2 separate regions of the Homo sapiens genome follow, and region 1 is linked to region 2. The links are contacts of gene promoters, found by promoter capture Hi-C in human tissues and cell types (Jung and others, 2019). All regions are on one chromosome and are shown on one strand. Each heading gives the region's core, a stretch centred on a gene start or on the middle of the fragment in contact. The rest is flanking DNA. Distances are from core to core; before and after follow the strand shown.

Region 1 (3,412 bases), core at 390-2,889, 270 kb after region 2:
ATATTCTCTCTTTATGGGTGTTTGTATTAATTTGGATGAAAAAAAATGTGCCCATACAGTTGTTTTCATTCTTTTTAGCTGTGGGTGTTTGGGATCTGAATGAGTGAGAATGCATTTGTGTCACACCCTGAGAAAGTATACCAATAGTTGCAGTTTATTAGGAACAAAGGTTGAAAACTGTAACCCAACCATCATAGTGCTGGATTCATTTGAGTTTATTGCCAGAACCCAGTGTTCCCAGGCTATGAGATGCTCAGTAGATTCTTTGAAAACTAGGGTGAAATCCAATATGCCTTTGGAAGGAAATCCTCCTGTGGTGTTACACAAATGCACATTGGGTGTGTTGGTCCCTATGGAATTTCAGTATCCACATGGTGTTTCCCTTGTGGCTCATTGAAAGCAATCTGCCTTCTCTTCAAAGGGGGAATTGCAGCAGGAAGCAGCGGAAAAGGACGAGGAGCCAAGCGCAAACAGCAGGATGGAGGGACCACAGGGACCACCAAGAAGGCCCGGAGGTGGGGAGAGTGCCCACCCTGCCCCCCTCACTATTTAAGTATTATTTGGTGCTGGGAAAGTCCAGCAGAGGGAAGAGAGTTCAAGGGTCGGAGGTTAAAAAGCCTGTCCATTTTTTCTAAACCTTGAGCACTTTGAGGGACAAAATAACCCCAGGTTGGAGGCCAGGCGCAGTGGCTCATGCGTGTAATCCCAGCACTTTGGGAGGTCAAGGAGGGTGGATCACTTGAGGCCAGGAGTTTGAGACCAGCCTGGCCAACATGGCGAAACCCCATCTCCACTAAAAATACAAAATTAGGCAGGTGTAGTGGTGAGCGCCTGTAATCCCAGCTACTTGGGAGGCTGAGGCAGGAGAATCGCTTGAACCTGGGAGGCGGGTGGCAGTGAGCCAAGATCATGCCACTGCACTCCATCCTGGGCAACAGAATGAGACTCCGTCTCAAAAACAAAACAAAAAACAAAAATAATAACCCCAGGCCGGGCACGGTGGGTCATGCCTGTAATCCCAGCACTTTGGGAGGCTGAGACAGGTGAATCACCTGAGGTCAGGAGTTTGAGACCATCCTGGACAATGTGGTGAAACCCCATCTCTACTGAAACAAAAAACAAAAAAATTAGCTGGGCCTGGGGGCACGTGCCTATAATCCCAGCTACTCGGGAGGCTGAGGTGGGAGAATTGCTTGAACCCAGGAGGCAGAGGTTGTAGTGAGCTGAGATCGCGCTATCGCACTCCAGCCTGGGCCACGAGAACGAAACTGTCTCAAAAAAACAAAACAAACCCAAGTTTAAGTGTCATGTTTTACATTTAAGTGTACATACATTTGTTAGTACAAAATTTATAGTAGTAACAAGTATAGTGTCTTCTGGTGATAAGCCTGGGGAACCTAGGGAGTGAAGTTCTGTTAAGGCGACTTGAGAAAGGATAGGTGGGGAGGGAGTGAAACCAGTGTTGAATGTTAGCTCCTTTAGCTCCTTAACTTTCTGCTTCTCCCTTCTCATGCCTTTTCCCTTCCCTTTGTCTAAAGCTGAGGTGATGAAATCCAGGTTGCTTATTTATTTATATATTTTTGTGAGATGGAGTTTTGCTCTATCACCCAGGCTGGAGTGCAGTGATGGAATCTCGGCTCACTGCACAAGTTATTTACTTAGATTAGCAAGATAGCAAGTGCTTATGTCTCTGAGCTTCTGTTCATTACTTTATAATAATCAGTATACTAAAGACTATCACCCTAATCACCCCCATTCCTCTCCTCCCTTCCCCCCCCCCCCCCCCCCGCATAATGTACCAGCTCAGTTTCATAGACATCAATTCATGTTTAAAGACCACTGGGAAGATATCCACAATCTACAAGTAATTTCACCAAAACTACCTTGCTCAATAAAGCTAATCCTTTTCACTTCCTTGTTTTGCCTGAAGAGGGCAGAGTTACTTATTTGAGTAATGAGAAGTATTTGCTGTGAAGTTGCATGTATTCTAGCTGAAATAAACCAGAGGCCTTTCTTACACAGTTGAATGCATTTGAGCTAAAGGGGGTTTTAGTTTTTTGATGTTATTTTTTCCTTTCTGCAGTGACCCTTTGTTTTCTGCTCAGCGCCTTCCCCCTCATGGCTACCCATTGGAACACCCGTTTAACAAAGATGGCTATCGGTATATTCTAGCTGAGCCTGATCCGCACGCCCCTGACCCCGAGAAGCTGGAACTTGACTGCTGGGCAGGAAAACCTATTCCTGGAGACCTCTACAGAGCCTGCTTGTATGAACGGGTTTTGTTAGCCCTACATGATCGAGGTATGTAAAGTATTGGAGATCATATGGATGCAGGGTTACTTTGAACTGCCATCATTAGCCTTGTCAGTCTAGAATTAGGTGTACATCTCAGTCTGTTGCCACTGCCTCACCCCCATCTCTGTCTAGATTCATCCAGAATGTGCAAGAAATTCTGTTCCTTCCTATAAGCTCCAGCCGTTTTATTTATATATATATATATATATATATATATATATATATATATATATATGGTTTTTTAAAACTTTCTATTTTGAACTAATTTTAAACTTGCAGTAAAGTTGCCAAAAATAAGTTTTCTTTCTCATCAAGCTTTTCCTAATGATAATATCTTAGAAAACCATAGTACAGTTATCAAAACTGGGAAATTAACATTGGTAAATATTATCAACACAACTAGAGAAAGACCTTTCAATTTTACCAGTTTTTCCACTCACACTTAATTATTTCTCTTTAGTCTATTATAGTCTTTAACAGTTCCAAAGCCATTGCTTATCTTTCATGACCATGATATTTTTAAGTGTTTTAATCAGTTATTTTGTTGAATATTCCTCAGTGAAGATTTGTCTGATGTTTTCTCATGATTAGACTGAAGTTAGGCAGTTTGGGGAAGAATAACACGGAAACAATGTCTTATAGCATCATCTCATGGGATTCATGATGTCAGTAGGTCTTATTGGTTACGTTGACCATGATCATTTGGTTAAGGTGATTCTGCTAGCTTTCTCCACTGTAAAAAACTACCGTCTTTCCCTTATACTTAACAAATGTCTTAGGCAAAAATACATCGAGTCTATCTATGCAAATATCTTGTTTGTTTTTAAACTTATGTTCACTAATTTTAGCACCCATCAGTGGATATTGTCTGCAACAATTATGACTGTGTTGTATGATGATTTTCGATTTCCTCTTTCCCTTTTCTGTTAATTGATTATTTATATCAGTATGGACTCATATATATTTACTTTATTTCAGGGAGTATAATCCAATACTTTGATTATTTTGTTGTTTAAATTATTCCAGCTTTGGCAAGTAGGAGCTTCTTCAAGAAGTTGGTTCTTGTGTTCTTTCGATAAGCCGTGTCTTTTTTTAAAAAAAAAATTTCTTTACTTTG
Region 2 (3,542 bases), core at 296-2,795:
AGCTCACTGCAACCTCCACCTCCCAGGTTCAAGCGATTCTCCTGCCTCAGCCTGCCAAGTAGCTGGGACTACAGGTACATGCCACCATGCCCAGCTAATTTTTGTATTTTTAGTAGAGACGGGGTTTCGCTATGTTTGCCAGGCTGGTCTTGAACTCCTGACCTCAGGTGATCCACCTGCCTAGGCCTCCCAAAGTGCTGGGATTACAGGCGTGAGCCACAGCACCTGGCCTAGGATAGTTTTCTTTAAAGCCACTGTGTTGTAAAAGGTCAATTCTCACCTCGTTGCTGGCTGCGACTAACTTGTTCGTTTTCCCCTGTGCTTCGGGAATATGTTACCTCTGTAAGATAATAAACAACAAATAGTGTGCTTAGCCTTTATTCATCAGACCCCTGCCCTCCCACCACACAAAACCAGGACGCAAAATTCAAATCATTGAGCATCTGCTGCTGCACAGTTAAAGGCCCCATCTGGTTTTCTATGTCTACAAGAGGTTCCGAATACACAGAGACTGGGAAAGGTTAGGACTGCATTAAAGCAGCTCCAAGTGTTCCAAATTTCCAGTCATCCTTCCAGTACATTCCATACAGGCAATTTTCCTAGCAGCAGATTTTGTTGTTGTTTGTTTAAGGAGTTTCCCTCTATAGTCCAGGCTGGAGCACAGTGGTGCGATCACAGCTCACGGCAGCCTTCAACTTCCAGGCTCAAGCAATCCTCCTACCTCAGATTCCTGGGTAGCTGGGATTACAGGTGTATGCCACCATACCTGGCTAATTAAAAAAAAATTTTTTTAGGCACTTGTCTCGTTACGTTACCAAGGCTGGTCTCGAGATCCTGGGCTCAAGCAATCCTCTCGGCTCTGCCTCCCAAAGCACTGGGATTACAGGCGTAAGCCACCCCACCCAGACAATGGCTGCAGATTTTGAGGGCTGCACTGGTCAGAAACTTGGAAAGCAAAGAAAAGTGATGTTTTGCCAGTTTGTGCTTAAAACTATTTCAGGGTAATAATACCTGCTATAATCGTATCGGCAATCCTTCCACAATGACCAGACATGGCAAGATGAGTGGAACTTTTGTTTCTGTCTCACTTATTCAATATTTATTACACGCACCATCTATGCCCGATACTAAGTGCTGGGAAAACACAGATGAATGGCAGCCCCCATCTCCTTCAGCTCCCTCGCTCACTTTAGGTCATTTTCTCTCAAATTAAGTGTGTGCGTTACAGTTAGGAGTATGGGGGGAGCGGGGAGGCAAAAGGAATCTGATGTTAATCCCTCCACCGCCCCAGGCTGTCCCCAGGGCCACAAGTACCTCGGAGATTGCCCTCGTCGCTGAAGGTAGTGGTAAGGACCCCCTCGGTGACCACGCAGCCGCAGTCGGAGCACACCAGCTGGCTCTGCGAATAGTGCGAGTCTTCCACCAGCTCCGTGGAGCCGCAGTCCGGGCAGCGGCCTCTGCCTGGCATCTCACAACCGGCCCCAAAGCCGCGGAAGCCTTCAGAGACTCCTGGGTCTGCAACAGCAACCGTGAGGCAGCAAGAAGTAGGAGGGGACACTTCAAAGGGTTGCACCCCCGTCTTCCGGCCAGCGCGACGGAGGCATAGGCGGTTCCCTCCGCTGGGAGGCTGCGCGCCACTTCCGGTCTGTGCCTCCGCGGGCTCGGGTAGAAACGTGAGCTAGGAGAGGAGGTTCCTGGGCTGAACTGTAGCTGTCTGGTTTCCCTGCACTCTGTAGTTAGTTTTTGGGACCTAGACTGGGGTTGAATTTGGGAAAGTTTTTGCCTACATGGACACGTATAACAGACAGAAGATTGTTGTCACCCCTGAACAACCCTCCTTTTAAAGTCCTAAGGGAATCGCAGGTTGGTAATGAATGTTTAATTGGCCATAGAAGAAAGTATATTTTTTAAAGGGAGAGTAGTGGAGAGAGAGCGGGAGCAGGAAACTGTGTTCTGCTTTCCAGAGCTGCTTCCTAAAGCAGATTCCTTCCTCTCTTTACCTCCTGTTTTTCTCAACTGTAAAATGAGGAAGTTGAAAAAAAAATCCAGAGATGCAAACCCAAACGCTTTTGGAGGCCAGGCAGGAATGTCTAAAGGAGTTTGGAGTGAAAGAATATGGAGTGATGGAGACCTGGAGCGGCGCAAGCACGCAGATTCAGATGTTTTTTAAAAAACCTTGAGCTATCTGGGCGTGGTGGCTCACGCCTGTAATCCCAGCACTTTGGAAGGCCGAGGCAGGTGGATCACCTGAGCTCGGGAGTTTGAGACCAGCCTGGGCAACATGGTGAAATCCCGTCTCTACTAAAAATACACAAAAATTAGCTGGGCGTGGTGGTGCACGTCTCTAATCCCAGCTACTCAGGAGGCTGAGGCAGGAGAATCGCTTGAACCCAGGAGGCGCAGGAGGCGCAGTGAGCCAAGATCGCGCCACTGCACTCCAGCCTGGGTGGCAGAGCGAGACTCCATCTCAAACAAAATAAAACATACCTTTAAGAAGTGTCACTCCCTTCTTTTCCACACCCAGTTTTTACACGTGATATCCAAACCTAAAGACACCATCCCTTCCCTAAGAGACTGCTTTCTCAGAGTGTGAGAATCACTACTCCTTTTCAGAGACATCCCGTCCATTCCCATGGGGATCGCTCACATTGGAGGGCCAAGAGACACAATAATACCCAACGGTCCTTTCTCTTCAATTTGAATTACTTTAGTATCATAACAGAAGGGGGCTTCAGCACATTAATCGTGGGTGGGATCCGGCAGTCCAAGCCCCCCCGCCTTTTCTAGACCTCCCCACTAGCGTGAGATACAGGATGAGAGCTTATTTCTGGCTGTCTGACAGTTAAATATTAAGATACATTTGCACATGCGCACCCGCACACACACACCACTCAGAGACATCCATTAGTTTTAGTGTGGTTGACATTCTTATTTGGATGAAGAAAGTGTCCCTGAAAGCGACATAACTTGCACTGGGAACAGTTCCTTGCATGATCACACAGCAGAGCATCAGACTCCCCTCATCCCCAGTTGTGTGCAGATCTTGAACCTACCTTCACTTTTTTTTTAAGCGGGACTTTACAGAGCCCATCTACCTAGGACAGAAGCCTTGAAATCCTGCCTGACCCAACCTGATTGATTGTAAAGTGGAAAAGCAGTTTTATGATCCTGCAGCCAGCCACGGAAGGAGAAAGCTGGTTGTCTTTCCCAGTCACACATGATGTACTTACTGGGAGCCTAGGAGAGCCTGGTCCTCGGGCACACACAGGCTGGGAGGGGGCAGGGTCCAGGCCAGAAGATGGCGCCCTCTACTAAGATGTGTAAGTTTGGGGTTCTCCACTTTCTCAGGAAGAAGTCCATTTATTTGGGAAATGTATTTGCCTTGCTCCAGGAAATCTGGACAGACGTGGAAATCATCTTGGTGCCCTCTCCACTGCTCCCAGTTCTTCTAAGAGTTATCATTCCTGGTAGTGATTATCTTATTTTTTAATTTTATTTATTTATTTATTTTGAGAGGAGTCTCACTCTGTCGCCCAGGCTGA

What was found. The method cuts DNA at HindIII sites, captures the fragments that hold promoters and counts their contacts. A contact is called where the count stands out against the background at its distance.
Region 1: a fragment that was not itself captured here is called in contact with the fragment with the promoter of BRF2 in region 2 in 1 of the 25 tissues and cell types used here (IMR-90 fibroblasts).

What each region holds. Positions count from the first base shown.
Region 1 is chr8:38,118,849-38,122,260 of GRCh38, forward strand. ASH2L (ASH2 like, histone lysine methyltransferase complex subunit) reads left to right here. Exons shown (of 16, transcript NM_004674.5): 9 at 422-515; 10 at 2,084-2,301. Among named protein-coding and RNA genes, the nearest start is that of ASH2L, 15 kb to the left of the region's middle. The HindIII fragment of the contact is 6,776 bases long and covers 1-3,412 here.
Region 2 is chr8:37,848,316-37,851,857 of GRCh38, forward strand. BRF2 (BRF2 general transcription factor IIIB subunit) reads right to left here and starts at 1,546. Exons shown (of 4, transcript NM_018310.4): 1 at 1,315-1,546; 2 at 281-340. The coding sequence starts at 1,468. RefSeq lists enhancers at 1,222-1,361, 1,402-1,751. The HindIII fragment of the contact is 10,485 bases long and covers 1-3,542 here.